Linked DNA regions of Homo sapiens: region 1 is linked to region 2. The links are contacts of gene promoters, found by promoter capture Hi-C in blood cells and fetal thymus (Javierre and others, 2016). All regions are on one chromosome and are shown on one strand. The core of a region is centred on a gene start or on the middle of the fragment in contact, and the rest is flanking DNA. Distances in the headings are between cores, read along the strand shown. Region 1 has its middle 35 kb from the start of RNF6. Region 2 holds the start of WASF3 (WASP family member 3).

Region 1 (4,449 bases), core at 913-3,412, 370 kb before region 2:
GCACAATACGAGTATCTCTGCCTTTTAAAGCTGTTCTGGCTTAAAACAATGCCTCACCTTACATTTTCTATGAGTGAAAATAACGTAGATTGAATGCTAAGCATACACACTGTGCAGGCCACAAAGGATAAATCTGTGGACTCCTGCAGAAGGCAGGCGATCCAAAGCAAATGTCCTTAGCTGCCCTCCACCAGTAGAGGGCAGCCCTCTCCCTACAAACTGTCTACCTAGTGAGCTCCAAAGTGCGCTGCAGGAAATTATTTTAGAACTTGTAGGTATTGTTATCATTTTATTGATTGATTGATTGATTGACTATTAAGACAGGATTTCACTCAGCCACCCCAAGCTGTAGTGAAGTGGCACAAACACGGTTCATTGCAGCCTCAACTTCCCAGGATCAAGCCATTCTCCCACCTCAGCCTCCCAAGCAGCTGGGACAACAGGCGCACACCACCATGCCCGGCTAATTTTTTCAAATTATTTTTTGTACAGATGGGATCTCACTATGCTGCCCACGCTGGTCTCGAACTAATGGGCTCAAGCTATCTGACCGCCTCGGCCTCCAAAAGTGCTGGAGTTACAGGCATGAGCCATCATCCCCGACCAAGGTATTATTTTTATTTTAGCTTTTTAAAATTTCTATTTGGTGTGCTCTTTGTAATAATACATAAATATATATATGAGCATGCATTACATTTTTATAACTTATAAATAAATACATATACATATACATTTGAAGTGCATTTTTTTTAAAAAAAGTTGTTACTTGGCTGGGCACAGTGGCTCACGCCTGTAATCCCAGCACTTTGGGAGGCCGAGGTGGGCGGATCACGAGGTCAAGAGATCGAGACTATCCTGGCCAACATGGTGAAACCCCGTCTCTACTAAAAATACAAAAAATTAGCCTGGCGTGGTGGCAGGCGCCTGTTATCACAGCTACTTGGGAGGCTGAGGCAGGAGAATCGCTTGAACCCGGGAGGCGGAGGTTGCAGTGAGCCGAGATCGTGCCACTGCACTCCAGCCTGGGCAAAACGAGCGAAACCCTGTCTCAAAAAAAAGTTGTTACTTAAAGTAATGCATTGTCAACAGAAGTGTAGAGGCCATGATTCTAAACTTGTGTTCTCTACGCCTAACTACGAACCTTGTGCCTTTCCAAAACCAAAGGTCACACTTCTGGAAAGTTCCTTCCTCCCTCACATTCAATATCTATTTAGAGAACACACACTATGTCCTAGCTTCTGCTAGGTTCTGAAAATACAGTAAGAGGCAAAAGAGCCATAGCCCCTCCCACCCCGTGCCCTTATGAAACTTGCAGTCTACATAAACATAGATATGAAACAAACACAAAATGTATGTTTTAACCCTAAAATGCGATAGGGAAGCCAGTCAGACGATTTACTCGGGAGTAAGAATTCAGGTCATTCACCAAGGCGCCCATGTCAAAGCTTCATCACCCGCCTCGCGGCCCTAAAACGTGTCAGAGTCATGATACACACAACGCAGAGGAAAAGTTCAAAAACAGATCTTAAAAAGAGAAGTGAAAGCAAGCGATCAAAACATTTCTGGAAATCTGACACATCTGGAGTGCCGTGTGGAGACGCCAGGGCGCGTGGAGCTTTGAGCAGTTAAAAACCCAGACCGGGAGGCCAGTGCGTGTGTAAGACCGCGTTTCTCTGCAAGGCTGTCCCGCGGCAGGAACGCGCTCGTTGGGCCGCAGAGCAAGAGCGGGACGCGCCGGGGGGCGTCTGCGTGGCACGTGGGCCCCGCAGCCAGTCGCGCTACCGACTGGCAGTCAGCGGAGACGCTTCGGAGCAGGTCTGTTAGGGCGCGCGCACACACATGCACGTGCACGAGCGCACGTACACGCGCACACCGCCAGCGCGGACCCTGACGGGGCCGAGCCTCGGAATTGGGCCTCCTCGGCCGCCGTCGTCTTCTCAGCTCTCACAGGGCCCGCAGCGGCGCTATACCTTCGGCCACAGGTAGCGCGTTCCTTCGCTGTGCTGACCGTCGATCCCGGGGGCGCTAGAGCGCCGGCTCCGGGGAGGGCAGGGAAGCGTCAGGGACCTTTCTTCTTCTTTTTTTTTTTTTCTTTTTTTGAGACGGAGTCTCGTTCTGTCGCCCAGGCTGGAGTGTAGTGGCGCGATCTCGGCTCACTGCAATTTCCGCCTCCCAGGTTCACGCCATTCTCCTGCCTCAGCCTCCCGAGTAGCTGGGACTACAGGCGCCCGCCACCACGCCCGGCTAATTTTGTGTATTTTTAGTAGAGACGGGGTTTCACCGTGTTAGCCAGGATGGTCTCGATCTCCTGACTTCGTGATCCACCCACCTCGGCCTCCCAAAGTGCTGAGATTACAGGCATGAGCCACCGCGCCCGGCAAGCGTCAGGGACCTTTCTAGAGCCTTGCTTGGCCTGAGGTCCGGGACTGGGGCTGTCCCCGCTTCCTGTTTCTGCCATCAGTGGGGCCACAGGCCTGAAGACGGCTTGTACCGCCACCTTGGGCGCCTCTGCTCCTGGCTGCGACGTGGGGCGTCCTAGCCTTCGGACCGGGAACCTGATAGGAGACGAATAGAAAGGGGGAAAGCCCTGGAAAATTAAGCCGGCACAAGAAGGGGGAAACGTTTGGAGGTCAGGCAAGGCTGATGGCCTTGGGGATCGCGGAGCAGGAGGCTTACTGGGATGTCCAGTGTGAGAATGTCAGCCCGTGAGCTCTGGTGTGCAAGAAAAATGCCTCTTTTCTGGATTTCAGGTGAATTTCTGACTCCTCTGGGCTACATACGACCACCCTTCCCTGGCCCCCTCTGGTGAACTGGTTATAAAAGAAAAATTACCCTAGTTCTTCCTGCGGTCCCCTCCCCAGGGATTAGGCCAAGTTCTGGAAGCTTATTGGGTGACTTAGTGGGTATGTTAATGGTTAAGTAACGTACCCAAGGTCTTATTGCCAATCAGTGGCAAAGTCAGGATTCAAATGCAGATCTCTTGGACTCCAGAGGCTGGAGTTTATTAAATGTTTAGCCCCAGCTCTATTTGATTTTGGGGGTTTTTTAAGACAGTCTCTATCTGTTGCCCAGGATGGAGTGCAGTGGTGCAATCTTAGCTCACTGCAGCCTTGAACTGTTGGGCTTAAGCAGTCCTCCTGCCTCAGCCTCCCAACTAGCTGGGACTACAGGCGTGTGCCACCACACCTGGTTCCTAGCTCTATTTGAGACCACAGTGGCCTGAAGTGTAAAGCACACTGGACACTAGGTGTCAAAAAATAGAACTAGAAGTCAACAAGTGATCTAAAACAAGATTCTGTAGGTGTCTGGGCATCAGTTTCATCATCTGGGTGAAATGGACTTGAACCTGTTAATATCCAAGGTCCCTTCAGCCCTAATAGTCTAGGAATTCTAGAGAGTGTAACTGCTCATTTGCAGGCTGCCATCCAGACCATCACAACTGTCTTGTGGCTCATGGAGACTTTCAGATTGATGCAGTGGCTCCAAGGCGAAGTGACCTCAATTGCTGATGCAAAACTAGATTCTATAAGTGTAAACTGGTGGTTCACAAGGACAGGTGAGAAGTGCTGATGGTGGCAAGGGAGGCAATTATAACAATATCCCTCCCCTTCTACCCCATCCTCCACCCCACTTGTGACAGACATAGACAAGGACTTAATTGTGGCACAGAGGAAGGGCAACTGACTCTTGAGACCAGTGAATCTGTAGTCAAAACGCACTGATCACTGTTGAATAACTACTGGAATTATCAAGAGTCTGGCTGAATTTACATTTTACTTTCCAAAACAAATATAACCAAAAATTCCAGTCACTGCATAAGCCAGAAGCAGGTGACACACAGAAGTGAAGACTGAGGGGAGTTTAGGTGAAAGCTGCAGCTGTTCTCTCCCTTTTAGTGGGGGCTTTAGTTGGACAAGTCAAAAGAGCTTTTTTTTTTTTTTTTTTTTTTTTTTTTTTGAGATGAAGTCTCACTCTGTTGCCAGGCTGGAGTGGCATGATCTCGGCTCACTGCAACCTCTGCCTCTTCAGTTCAAGCACTTATCCTGCCTCAGCCTCCCAAGTAGCTGGGACTACAGGCACATGCCACCATGCCCGGTTAATTTTTGTATTTTTAGTAGAGATGAGGTTTCAACATGTTGGCCAGGATGGTCTCAATCTCTTGACCTCGTGATCTGCCCACCTTGGCCTCCCAAAGTGATGGGATTACAAGCATGAGCCACTGCGCCCGGCTCAGAACAGATTTCTGAAGAGGTTGTATGCAAACTGATTATTGTAGACTCAAAGGCTTACACTCCCATGAAGTAAGAGGGAGCTTTCTTAAATGTAAGATAGAATCAAAATATTCCTAGTAGCCAGGGATGGTGGCTAACGCCCGTAATCCCAGCACTTTGGGAGGCCGAGGCAGGTGGATCACCTGAGGTCAGGAGTTTGAGACCAGCCTGGCCAACA
Region 2 (4,416 bases), core at 652-3,151:
TGATAAGAAGCACTCCTATTTAGTAGGCACTTTTAGTCAAGATTCTGTTACAGGTCACCAATTCACTCCCTGATGCAGCAACATTTTATTAAGGATGAGGCACTTATTAGCGGTGGGCTCTAATCCTCTAACAAGACTGCTCTAAGCAGTTTTTATTTAAAGGACTGGTTCACACAAGACCATATTTGAAATAATTTATTTGTACCATGAACCACAACACTAGGAATAGAATCATATTTACCACATGCTCAGCACTGTACTAGGCATTATAAAAGGAGGAAAGAGGACTGTAAAATAAGGGCCTTATCCTCATGGAACTGATGATCTAATTAGAGAGGTAAGACTGACCTATATGAAACAAACCTGAACACTTTGGGATGATGTGTTTAAGGGCTAACAGTGAGTGCAAACTAAGTGTAGCAGCGGTTTATAAGGCTGGGGTCACCGAAGAGGGAAGCAGCCAGGGAAATATGATTAGCAACCTTGAAAACACTCTGGGTATCTATACTTTCATATTTTTGAGTTCTAAATTAATGACCTAAACATAGACATGGAAGCCATTCCCCTGGGTAAGTGAAGATGAAATGAAGGAAAGTCATTTTAATTTGAATGCCAATTTAGCTTTCAATTCAGCAGACATTTGTCACTCTAGTATCAATATTTAAAATACTGGGTCACTGTAATTATTCACCAAAATCCTGTTTACCTTGTTAATTACCAGCAATTTTTTAAAATGATGGCACTTTATGGAAACTGAATATACGTCATCTTTAAAAAGAGCTTTTAAAATCCCTCCTTTGGAAGTAATGCAGGTTAATAGATTAGACATTTTATGAAGAGGGCTGCATGATTTTTCTACTGCATTTCTGGTGTTGCAAACTTTGGTGAAATTATTAACTGCTATTCATTTTTTCCAACTTTTAGTTGTCTCTAGCTAGATGTTGATCATTATTACACATCTGTAAAGAAAAGAGCAAACCAACTTGAATTAGTGTTTCTTGAACTATTCATTAGAATTTAAAATTTTTTCCTAAAAGTTTTTCAATTTAGTGATCCTATTGGTAAATAAAAAGAATAAAGGCATGCAAATTAAAATAAAGGTAACATTTCTATTAGATGTTTTTAAACCCCTTTCCTTTGTGACCTAGCTTTTCTATCTTGGCTTTTCTATCTTTTCTTCTCTTCCTTTCCTTTCCTCCTTTCTTTTTCTTAAGTTTGTTTATGCCTCAGTCATCTGGTCGCACGTGGCTATGTTCCACTGTGGCAGGGCTTAGCTGGCAGTTTCAGGGATATCTTAGTTTTAATAAGTATTGTGGATTTCCTCACATCTAGGGTGGAGAGAGATTGGTTATAGGGTGATAAAAACAGAAGAATCTGTGTTGAAGGAGATGGGAAGATTTTAAGAATGCTAACGAATTTGAGCAGGGCATAAAACCAACCCATGAACAGGGCTACAGTCCTCTCAGGGTTGCCTGAAGCCTCAGCCCTGGAGGACGTCTGACACCTTACAGGTAGAGGACCTCTGTGCAGGAGCCCTCAACACCCAGGGAGGATTAGGATATAAGCGCAAACTCAAAGGTACTGTAATGGGCACCTAGCAATCAGAGGTGATACAAGGGTCTCTTGGCCCGAAGTATCCCCACCTCTCCTCGCTGGAAAGGACGCTGCCTAAGCCTCATCCCGAGCTGGGGGCGGAGGACCAAGGGTGAGAGCCACCGCCTCCGCAATCCCCCGCCCCTCGGCACCGTCGCTCAGCGCGCTCGCCGGCTCCCTATTGGCCGAGGCACTCGCCAATCCTGGTGAAGCGGCCCCGTGAGTTGGCCCTGGTTGGTGGAGCCGGCACTGAGCCCCCCTCCTGCTCCGGCCGAGCCCCCCCGCCGGGAGGGGGCGTGGCCGCGGCCGTGGACGGGCCGGAGGCGGCGTCGCTCGCGCCGCTGCGTGCGGTGTGGTGCGAGGCGGGTGCGCCGGGCGGCCGCGGCGCGGCGGGACCATGGAGCTCAGAGCGCAGCCCCGGCGCCGGCGGCGGGACCGCGGACCGGTGAGTGAGGGCTGCGGTCGCCCCGGCTCTCCGCTGTAGGCTGCTGTGGCCCTCTCGGCTCCGGGCCGGGCGGCTGTCGGGGGAGGGGCGGCCCCACGGCGAACTGAAGTTGCTGCATCGCCGCGCGCTCCGGCCGGGCGGCGGGGCCCACTGCGGGCTGCGGCGCCGCCTCGCGCCTATCCCTGCAGCCCGGCCGCATTCTCCCGGCCGGCTCCCGCGCTGGCAGGGGCTTCTCGCCGTCACGGCGCGGCCAGGCGGCCCTTCTCTCCCGCGCCTCCGGGCCTCCGGCCCTTTGCCGTCCGGTGCGCGCTCCCTGGACTCGGGACAGCCACCCGCCCTCCCCGCCGTAAGTGGCGCCCGGGCCTCCGCTCGCGCCCCACGCACGACGCCCCGGGCCGCTCCGCGTCCGGGACCTTCGCATCCGTTCAGTGTCTGCGCGCCCTCGCTGGTTCTGGTCCAGCTCCGCGTGCCCCCCGGCCCCATTCGGCCCTCGCCGCCCTGGCCTGTGCCCTCTTGGTGCCCGCGTGCGTGTTGGTTGCGGGCGTCCTCTCCCTCGAGGCTGCGGTGCCGCGTGGCTCCCGGCCTCGGAGACCAGGCCGGACTCTTGGAGTGCAGGGGAGGAGGTGGGGCGGCCCGCGAGTGCGGGGGACCGCGCGCACGGAGCCGCGGCGCGCGGGGTATCATCCCCGGGGGTCTTTACCCGCGCGCCTGGGCTTTAGCGAGGGCAGAAGCTTCCTCTCAGTTTGTGGTGCTGACGTGCAATGGCGATTGCTTCTTGATTTGGCCCCTCTGCAAGGGAGAGTTCCCTGGTGGAGACGAGAGTTCTTAATTATTCAGAAACTATGTGATGGGCTTAGGGATCAATGGGAGCATCATAGGAATTCTTTCTCATTTTAAGGTTAATTTTTAAATTAGCGGTTTACTTCCAGCAACAGTCTCGAGTTTTCAAAAACTGAAAATTAAAAAGACTACTTTTCGCAGTTCTTCAAATTAAATGCATAGCAGAACATGGTATTTTAAGATTCAGAGTCTACTTTTTATAAGGGGGAGAGGATAGCTATTTGAAATATTTTGCATCTTAAAAATTAGGTTTATCTAAAGCTTAAAATGCGACTCTATCAAAACTAAGTTCAAAGTATTGTAATTGACTAATCTTTCTATTGTCTCTAGGGCAAATTCTATTGCTTCTTTTTATATGTGCTTTACCCAACTCTCCTTTTCTAGCAGTTAAACAATGCAGTGGTTCTTTAAAGCTAGTTCTTTTATCTGCTTGAGAGGTTAAACAAACGAAAGCTGGGTTTGACCTTTCCCAAAGGCATTCTCATTGTGTCCTCTCCAGCTCCCTTCTCCCAGGGTTCTAATGACTTCAGTGTAGTACTCATTTTTCTTCATCTTGAAAGATTTTCTTAGTTGGTATTCACAAAAGCTGTGTCTTTTCACATGTTTAAATATTGGAAAGTTTGGTCAACTATTATATTTACCTTCCAACCTGTGCTTATTCTAGAACTATGTACATATAGAAATTGTTCTTGCATTTCCAGTTGGCTGACATGAAGTTGCTTAATAGCATTTGTTTTTAAAAAATCTGTTTGCTTTAAAATTTACAACCTAATAGTCAATGATGTGCTTCACTATCTTCAACAATTACGAAAACAAAGGTGGAACACACTTTGCTAAGTGGTCATGCCAACATTGTAACCTCCTATCTCTTGTCAGTGTGTCTTTGTAGTCACACGTTACGGTTCCCATAGAAACCTATGTATGGCAGGTAACCTTTTGGTTATTGGGATGTTTTGATTAAAACAATTGCGTTATAATGCAAGTATTAAATGAATTGTCCCTACTCACGGGCTAGTACTAGTGATCGTCTTTGGAATTCCAAGGACTTTCTTTGAAGAGTACTCCCAGATTGTTTTTCACTTTGGGTGGCTCTCCATTGCTGTAGACCTTGAATCTCTTTTTCTTTTCTTTTCTTTCTTTCTTTCTTTCTTTTTTTTTTTTTTTTTTTTTTTTTTGAGACGGAGTCTTGCTCTTGTCTCCCAGACTGGAGTGCAGTGGTGTGATCTCGGCTCACTGCAACCTCCGCCTCCTGGGTTCAAGCGATTCTCCTGCCTCAGACTCCCGAGTAGCTGGGAGTACAGGCGCCCGCCACCATGCCCGGCTAATTTTTGTACTTTTAGTAGAGATGCAGTTTCACCATGTTGGACAGATTGGTCTCGAACTCCTGACCTCAGGTTGATCCGCCCACCTCGGCCTCCCAAAATGCTGGGATTACAGGCGTGAGCCACCGCTCCCGGCCGAATCTCTCAACTTCTCTTCTCAGTCCGTTTTAAGGGCCCTGTTTCTTTCAAGTCAGGCTTTTTTTGGCTTTGCTCTTG

What was found. Contacts are between HindIII fragments. The CHiCAGO score rates a contact against its expected background, and 5 or more counts as called.
Region 1: a contact is called between a fragment that was not itself captured here and the fragment with the promoter of WASF3 in region 2, in 1 of 17 cell types (megakaryocytes). The highest score is 5.8, in megakaryocytes.

Annotation. Positions count from the first base shown.
Region 1 is chr13:26,184,697-26,189,145 of GRCh38, forward strand. It overlaps a transcript of RNF6 not described here. Among named protein-coding and RNA genes, the nearest start is that of RNF6, 35 kb to the right of the region's middle. RefSeq lists enhancers at 1,449-1,618, 1,669-1,718. The HindIII fragment of the contact is 1,438 bases long and covers 1,444-2,881 here.
Region 2 is chr13:26,555,782-26,560,197 of GRCh38, forward strand. It overlaps WASF3 (WASP family member 3), which reads left to right and starts at 1,902. Exons shown (of 10, transcript NM_006646.6): 1 at 1,902-2,038. RefSeq lists silencers at 1,476-1,535, 1,796-2,005. The HindIII fragment of the contact is 3,016 bases long and covers 1-2,767 here.